3 separate regions of the Homo sapiens genome follow, and all the other regions are linked to region 3. The links are contacts of gene promoters, found by promoter capture Hi-C in blood cells and fetal thymus (Javierre and others, 2016). All regions are on one chromosome and are shown on one strand. Each heading gives the region's core, a stretch centred on a gene start or on the middle of the fragment in contact. The rest is flanking DNA. Distances are from core to core; before and after follow the strand shown. Region 1 holds the start of NEURL1-AS1 (NEURL1 antisense RNA 1). Region 2 overlaps PDCD11 (programmed cell death 11). Region 3 holds the start of CALHM3 (calcium homeostasis modulator 3).

Region 1 (2,700 bases), core at 110-2,609, 38 kb before region 3:
CCTTGGTCTGTGTGTGTACAAACAAACAAAGTAAATATGTCTGAGTGATAACTAGATGCACAGGTAGATATCAAGGTATGGAACCACAGAATAGAGTTGTTCCCCAAGATACCTGCACTGCTCACTCCCTCACCTCCTGCAAATGCCATCAGGTCTTCTCTGGCCCAACCTATTCAAAGTGCTGTTCCCCAGACCCCCCAACTCATAATCCCTGTATCTGCCTCACTCATGGTTTCTTTCTCTCCAGGGCATTTTTCATCATCTGACATCCATATGTCATGTTTTTGGGTTTTAAAAATCTGTCTCTCTTCATAAGAATATAATTCCATGAGACAGAGGACTTGTTCCCTGCTGTATCCTAGTACTTAGAACAGTGCCTGGCACACAGTAGGCATTGACTAAATACTGGTTGAAAGAAAGGAATGAAAGAAAAGAGGGAGAGAGAGGGAGGGAAGGGAAGGGAGAGGAAGAGGGGGAAGGAAAAATGTAGCACTCTAAATGCAAACAGGCCCATACTATACATATTACACAATTTGCTCTTTTAATAATATAGTAGACTTTTTTTTTAAATCATGGTACCTCATTAATGTGTAAAGCTGCAAGGTATTCCTGTGAATAGACGTCATCATTTACTTAACCCACTGCTTCCTTCCTGAAACTGTGTGGGCAGTAAGTGGAGAAAGGGGCAAAATAAGGTACTCCCAGTCCATGGCTCTTGGCAATAAGCTTTCCCAAATTTCAGTCTAGGAAATTGACTGTTCATGGATCAGGGCATGCAAAGTTACCCTCAAGAGACATAAAGGATACCTGGCTGGAGGTGAAGAAAAGATGTGTTCATTGGATGCCAAAGATCGGTGAAAAGGGGATGTCACTGAGGCACACTGCGGTGAGGCCCACGGGAGCAGAGCCAGGGAGATGGTGGCCTGCCAGGCCCAAGTGTTGGGTCCTCCTGGCAGGCATTTCCCTGTTGGTGAAGTGGCCTGGGCAAGGCTCAGAGCCCATAGGCATTGAACTCTCAGACTGTGTTCTCAACTTGCCAGGCCTAGAGCAAGTTCACCCAGCACTCAAAGAGCTGCTGCAGGGGAGAAGGTGCCAGGAAGTCCATCTGACAGAAAATTTCTCTTTGGGAAACAGTACATTGACTTCTGATTTGACTCATGAACCTTTGTGGACTTGATTACAGACAGCCAGGGGCTTCCAGTCCTATCAACTCAGAGGAGACACAGAGGAGATGAAATTTGGGGCCAGCTCAGGCAAAGGCCAGATGTGGGCAGGAGAGGACTCACTACGGAAACCAGCCCCTCAGGCTGACCCACCTAGCTCCTAGCTCACAAAGCCATTGTGTTGAGTAAATGAGGTCAGAGCTGTGGGTCTTGGGGCTCAGGGCCTGGTACACAGTAGGAGGTCATTAAACAGTAGGTATTTCTTGTTTATTATTAGAAGTTTGAAGAAGGTGAGTAATGGTATAGGGCAGGTCACACAATGGTGACTCACACCTGTAATCCCAACACTTTGGGAGGCCAAGGCAGGAGGATCGCTTGAGCCTAGGAGTTCAAGACCAGCCTCAGCAATATAGTGAGACCTCATCTCTACAAAAAGTTTAAAAATCAACTGAGCGTGGTAGCACATGCTGGTAGTCCCAGCTACTCAGGAGGCTGAGGTGGGAGGATCCCTTGAGCCCAGGAGGTGGAGGCTGCAGTAAGACGAGATCACGCCACTGTACTCCAGCCTGGGTGACAGAGTAGGACCCTGTCTCAAAAAAGAAAAAAGAAAAGGGAGGGAGGGAGGGAGGAAGGATGGAGGGAAGGAAGGAAGAAAGGAAGGGAGGGAGGGAGGAAAAGGAAAGGAAATAAATCAGGAAGTGTAAGTATTCCAGGTTTTTCTTCCAAAGAAGGAAGGAAGGAAGGAAGAGAGGGAGGGAGGGAGGGAGGAAGGAAGAAAGGAGAAAGGAGAAAGGAAAGTAAATAAATCAGGAAGTGTAAGTCCTCCAGGTTTTTCTTTCTTCCAGAATCGTACTGGTTATTCCAGGTCCCCTGAGGAGGAATCTACATTTTTCCAAGCTCTCCAGGCAATTCGTAGGCCCTTAGAGAACCACTGCACTGTGCCATATCATACCTCTAAACTCTGCTCCCTTGGCCTCTCTGGCCCTCTGACCTTTCCTGATTCTCCTTGTACCTCTCCCACACCTTCTTCATGGTTTCATTCTGTCCACCCTGTGATATTTCAACCACTCTCATGGTTTAAGTGACACCCACTGCTGACAACTCATTGTGGCCCTGATCTCTCTTCTGAGATTCAAGCTCACACATGGAGTTGCCAACCCAGCGTCTCCCCCAGGATATCTCAGGGCTCTTCTGACACACCCTGGCCAAAACTCAACCTATCATCTTTCCCTCCAACCCCCGCCTTCTGCTTGGGGTCCTGATGGGATCACCATTCTCCCAGTCACCTGAAAACCTGGCACCAGGAATAATCTTGGATTATTCCCTCACTCTCACCGCCTGCATCATTCAGTTATCAGTGCTGCCAAACACAACCTTTTATTTTTTTCTTTTCTTTTTTTTTTTTTTTTTGAGATGGGGTCTCACTCTATCACCCAGGCTGGAGTGCAGTCGTGCAGTCTCAGCTCACTGCAACCTTCACCTCCCAGGCTCAAATGATCCTCCCACCTCAGCCTCCCAAGTAGCTGGGACTACAGGC
Region 2 (2,793 bases), core at 194-2,693, 45 kb after region 3:
AGCACAGTCATTTTGGAGGGTATGTAACCCATCAATTTCACTTCTAGGAATTTATTTACCAAACATACCTGCATTAGTATCCAAATATATGCAAAAGGGCCAGGCACCGTGGCTCATGCCTGTAATCCCACCACTTTGGGAGGCCAGGATGGGCAGATCACCTGAGGTCAGGAGTTCGAGACCAACCTGACCGACATGGCGAAACCTAGTCTCTACTAAAAGTACAAAAATTAGCCAGGCGTCATGGCGCATGCCTATAATCCTAGCTACTTGGGAGGCTGAGGCAGGAGAATTGCTTGAACTTGGGAGGAGACTGCAGTGAGCTGAGATCGCGCCACTGCACTCCAGCCTACGCACTGCACTCCAGCCAGACTGCCTCAGTTAAAAAAAGGCTGTGTCTCGCGCCACTGCACTCCAGACTCTGTCTCACGCCACTGCACTCCAGCCAGACTCTGTCTCAATTAAAAAAAAACAAAAAACCCAAATATATGTACAAAGATACTTCAACATTATTGTCTATCAAAAAAAGTATTGTCTATCAACAGAGAATTGGTTACACAAATTTCAATTAAAAAAACCCCAGAATACTAAACAAACGTTTTAAAATAAGGTAAAAGGACAAAATAGATTTTGATATATTAGCATAGAAAAGGAAAAAAATTCATGATAAACTATGAGAAAAAAACAGTATATCAAATGATATTCTATTATTTATATAAAGAAAAACTATATATATATGCATTAAAGTCTAGAAAGATAGAAATCAAAGTACATAATGGCAAAAAGTGGTAGAGAAACAGAGGGGTTACAGAAATTTTCATTTTCTATTTCATATACCTGTTTTTCTGATAAAAAGTCATGTATTACAACAACGTTTTTTTTTAAATATACCAATTCCACAGACAGGTGAAAAGAGGAAGAACACTTCGCTTACCTGACAACCTTCTGGGGGACGAAGTCTTCCAGGGGCGTCTCGGAGTAGGAGTCACTCATGTGAAATATACTGACTGTTCCTATCTTCCCAAAGGGGAAGGAGACGGTCAGCCCCTCGTTGGGAGTCACCTTCACCACTCGGCCCATGGCCACTTCCCCTTCCTCAAGCTTGTGAGGACCTGGTGGAAGAACCAACCTGATTCAGGGAAGAGGAAATGAGCTAAGGGAGGAGCGGGAATGCCAGCCACACACAGGCTGGGGAAGGTGGAGGCTGCCCAGACTTGGGGTATCTGGGCTGAGTGATCCAGAACCATCTAGACTGAGATCACCCTGCCATGTAGCCAAGGACCTCAGGGCCAAGTGGTGGACAACTCTTTCCCAGGGACTTGAGAAAAACACCTGTGTAGGTAAGGGTAACCTGTATAGGTAAAGGTAACTCAGAGAGCAGTGGAGTAACTGGGCCAGAGCAAAGCCCAAGAGAAAAACTGTTCCAAGAAGGTCCCACACCAGGCTTTCTGAGGATTCCAATACCGAAGGGGTCCTCCAACTCAAGCAATAGCTGAAAACCCATCCCACCCCTTCCTGCCGCTCCCCTTCCCCGACCAGGCACTGTTTCATCCCCACACCTGTGAGGGACAGACATAAGAGGGTCTTGGAGGAATCTGGGCCAACAACGGTGGCCCTCAGGGCCTGGCCAACCCGGAACTTCTTATCTGGATGCTTCAGAACCTGGAAGGATAAAAAAACTCCTGTGATGCTTGAAGAAAGGCTGTCATTTATCCAAAACCACAGCATTTAAGTCTCCAAAGCAAGTATCTCCCAAAGCAACCCTTAAATAAAGAACAAGCTTCCTCAAATCCACTGTAAACCCACACACCAGGCACTGGGCCAAGCTTAGGGAACTTGGGTCCCCTCTCCAGGGATCTCAAGCACACTGACCTTGAAGCTCAGAGAAGTGAGCAATAAGGGAATTCTCCCCCGGATGTCTGGGGCAATCTCCACCTCAAGCCATTTCTTCACCACATTGTACTGAGGGAAAAAAAGGAACCAGAGTAGGGCAAATACAAATACAAGGTTTCCCGCCATTAAAACTTTCCTAAAACCACAAGGTGGAAAGGGCCCCAGTACACTTTTCCAAGAGACAGGAATCCACCCTTCCATCCCACTGCCCTTGCCCAACCTCCACTTCTCACCAGCTTCCCTCAGACTCCAGCTCAGAACCTTTGCTAGCCTAGCAGAATGTGCATCTCTTCCAGGGTCTCAGCTGACCAGGAGGCAAAAGAGACTCCAGAGATGTCCTCAAACTGGAGAACCAATCCCACAGACCTCTGTAGCCTCCTCCAAGCTCAGCTGTGCCCAGCGATTGTTAACCATCTCCAGAGGCCAATTTTTAATTTCTAAACCAATTTGGATTTGGATCCTTCACTGTTTATGCAGTGTCTTGCCCTAAATATGCACTCCAATTTTCTCCTTTTTTTTTGAGACAGAGTCTCGCTCTGTCTCCTAGGCTGGAGTGTGTGGCGGCAATCTCGGCTCACTGCAATCTCCACCTCCTGGGTTCCAGTGATTCTCCTGCCTCAGCCTCCAGGGTAGCTGGGATTACAGGCGCGCACGCCCCAGGCCCGGCTAAATTTTTGTATTTTTAGTAGAGATGGGGTTTCACCATGTTGGCCAGGCTGGTCTCAAACTCCTGACCTGAAGTGATCTGCCCACCTCGGCCTCCCAAAGTGCTGGGATTACAGGCGTGAACCACCACACCTGGCCGTAAATACATACTCCAATTTTCTAGTCAACTTAACAAATCATTTATCGAGCAGCTACTATGCACATGGCATCATAATGATAAATAAAAGCCAGAGC
Region 3 (2,700 bases), core at 77-2,576:
CCGCTCAGAGTCAGACTCACAGGGCCACTGGTGGCTCTCCCCATCTTCTCCAGTGCCTCATTTCCCTCACACAGGGAAATCTGTCTCATAGGACCTAGAGTAACGTACAAATATGGAAAATAAAAATACTAAGTGGCCAGGCTCAGTGGCTCATGCCTGTAATCCCAGCACTTTGGAAGGCCAAGGGGGCCAAATCACCTGAGGTCAGGAGTTCGAGACCGGCCTGACCAACATGGCAAAACCCCTGTCTCTACTAAAAATACAAAAATTAGCTGGGCGTGGTGGTGGGTGCCTGTAATCCCAGCTACTTGGAAGCTGAGGCAGGAGAATCACTTGAACCCGGGAGGCAGAGGCTGCAGTGAACCAAGATCGTGCCACTGCACTCCAGCCTGGGTGACAGAACAAGACTCTATCTCATAATAATAATAATAATAAGTAAGACCCAGGTTTCTGTCTGTCTTCATCAGAAGTACAGACCACACAGATGGTTACGAAATTTGCAAGACTTATTTGGGATGATCTGACTTACAATATGGGCCAAGTGACCTTTACAAAATTCGTTTTGCAGGTTTCAGGGGTCCCTCAAACATCTGGGCTGTCATCCTTCGGAGAGACTGGAACTGAGACACAAGGAGAGACCTAGTGATGTGGGAGAGTTAGGAGAAGAAGCAGTGATTTCAAACGCATGCCCCTCACACGGAAGAAGGGCAGGGGGAAAGCCATGCAGGTGTGGGCGTGGCACTTGAGCAGCCTCTCCCATGGGCACCCAGTGGTTAATGCACAATGTTTAGCACGTCGCCCAGGGAGGCCATCCCCTTCCGCTACCCCTTTCATGGCAAATGCTGAAACATCGTTGAAGACTCCTCTCAAGGGTCTCCTCTTCCAGGAAGCCTTCGGTCAGGAATAGGTGCCCCTTCTGGCTCCTCCTAGCCTGAAAGCCAACATGAAATCTCCCTGGGCTGAGCTGAGTCGTCATATTTTGTTGTTGTTGTTGCTGTTGTTTTACTATGCCTGTGAGACAAGTTCAGAGTCATGCTTTTGATCAAGACCAGAAAATATACTACCTTGGCTCCATCAGCATCTTTTCCTCACCACACCCAGAATTTGCCTGTCCCCCGAAGGAAGCTCCAACGGCTGTCAAGCCTGAGCATCCAGACCGTAAAGCAAAGAGAAATGGGCCGGGAGGAATGGAGTGACAGGGCGGGGCCCATTTGCCTAGAGGTGCTTTGGGCTGCCCGGTCACAGAGGGTGACTCACTCCCCCAGACAGGAGGGGAGTGGCACCAGGGGACCATTGGGCTGGGCAGGGGAGCCTTTGTGGTGAGAGCCTGTCCCTGCCTTAAGTGCCTACTGGATCCCGGGAGCCTGGGCTGGGGCCTGGGCACTGCTTCCTCCTTGGCCCCTCAGGCCCTTGGAAGCAGAGAGAGAACCTCTTGCAGATCCCAGGCTCGTCCCCAGCACAGCAGACACCAGGAAGGTGGCCAGAGCCTCACTGAGCCGAACCGACGGCCGCCCACCCACCCAGGCTGGAGCCATGGATAAATTCCGCATGCTCTTCCAGCACTTCCAGTCAAGCTCGGAGTCGGTGATGAATGGCATCTGCCTGCTGCTGGCTGCGGTCACCGTCAAGCTGTACTCCTCCTTTGACTTCAACTGTCCCTGCCTGGTGCACTACAATGCACTCTACGGCCTGGGCCTGCTGCTGACGCCCCCGCTCGCCCTGTTTCTCTGCGGCCTCCTCGCCAACCGGCAGTCTGTGGTGATGGTCGAGGAGTGGCGCCGGCCCGCAGGGCACCGGAGGAAGGACCCAGGCATCATCAGGTGCGGTCCCACACCACTCAGTGACCCATGAGCTTTGCCAGGGGCTCCCCAGCCACCCCACAGGCACTGTCAAGTGCACCCCCAGACCCCAACCATTCTCATTATCAGGGGATTCTCCACCCACCCTACAGGTACTGCCAGGTGCGCCCTCTCCTTTCCCCAACTAGGAATTATCGGCTCACAGAGAGCCACTTGCCAGTTTCCACTCTGGAAACATATTTCTGTTCCTATCGTTTGTCACCTTTCCGTGGCCAGTGCTGTAAACATAGGAATGACACAGGATTCCCAATTACCCAGGCCACTCTAGGGGCTGCGGGAAAACTTCCTCTTTGCCCTCTGAAGCTCTGCTGAAAATCAACTGACAAAAGGCAGATTAATAAGAGAAAAGGCATACAAATTTATTTGATTACCGTTTTATGTGCCACAGAACCTTCAGAATAAAGACCTAAAGATACAGAGGAAATGGTTCATTTTTATGCTTAGGTTCAACAAGGTTTGGATAGCCACGCAGAAATAGAATTGGATTAAAAAAGGGATGAACTGATGTTATAGACGGAGTGGGGAAACTCAGCAAGGCCATCTAGGTTCTTCTTGGCCTCTCTATACAGTGTTCCTTTCTCCCAGACACGGGGCAGGACCCTCTCTAGAAGGGAGTCTTATGATCTACAATGAAACTAGGTAGGTCAGATCATTTCTTTACGGCCAGTTTTCAGACAGAAAGGCGGGGGGAAATTAGAATCATATTTTTAGGTTTTATGGTGGCAGCTTTGGAGAAAAGGAGTTCTGGTTTCTATGACCCACCTTGGGGAAGATGGATTCTAGTTTCTATGGCTAGCCTTGGGGGAAAATAAGGAGCCAGAGATTGGGTGGGGGGGCCAGG

Evidence for each region. The method cuts DNA at HindIII sites, captures the fragments that hold promoters and counts their contacts. A CHiCAGO score of 5 or more calls a contact.
Region 1: the fragment with the promoter of NEURL1-AS1 here is called in contact with the fragment with the promoter of CALHM3 in region 3 in 2 of 17 cell types (neutrophils and erythroblasts); the score reaches 8.5 in neutrophils.
Region 2: a contact is called between a fragment that was not itself captured here and the fragment with the promoter of CALHM3 in region 3, in 1 of 17 cell types (M1 macrophages). The highest score is 5.9, in M1 macrophages.

Annotation. Positions count from the first base shown.
Region 1 is chr10:103,516,101-103,518,800 of GRCh38, reverse strand. NEURL1-AS1 (NEURL1 antisense RNA 1) reads left to right here and starts at 1,359. Exons shown (of 4, transcript NR_120675.1): 1 at 1,359-1,415. All of the region lies in intron 1 of NEURL1 (neuralized E3 ubiquitin protein ligase 1), which reads right to left. The HindIII fragment of the contact is 6,397 bases long and covers 729-2,700 here.
Region 2 is chr10:103,433,117-103,435,909 of GRCh38, reverse strand. It overlaps PDCD11 (programmed cell death 11), which reads right to left. Exons shown (of 36, transcript NM_014976.2): 23 at 1,873-1,962; 24 at 1,560-1,662; 25 at 935-1,112. Among named protein-coding and RNA genes, the nearest start is that of CALHM2, 18 kb to the left of the region's middle. The HindIII fragment of the contact is 679 bases long and covers 1,104-1,782 here.
Region 3 is chr10:103,477,866-103,480,565 of GRCh38, reverse strand. It overlaps CALHM3 (calcium homeostasis modulator 3), which reads left to right and starts at 1,326. Exons shown (of 3, transcript NM_001129742.2): 1 at 1,326-1,820. The coding sequence starts at 1,534. It overlaps NEURL1-AS1 (NEURL1 antisense RNA 1), which reads left to right. Exons shown (of 4, transcript NR_120675.1): 4 at 569-963. The HindIII fragment of the contact is 14,732 bases long and covers 1-2,700 here.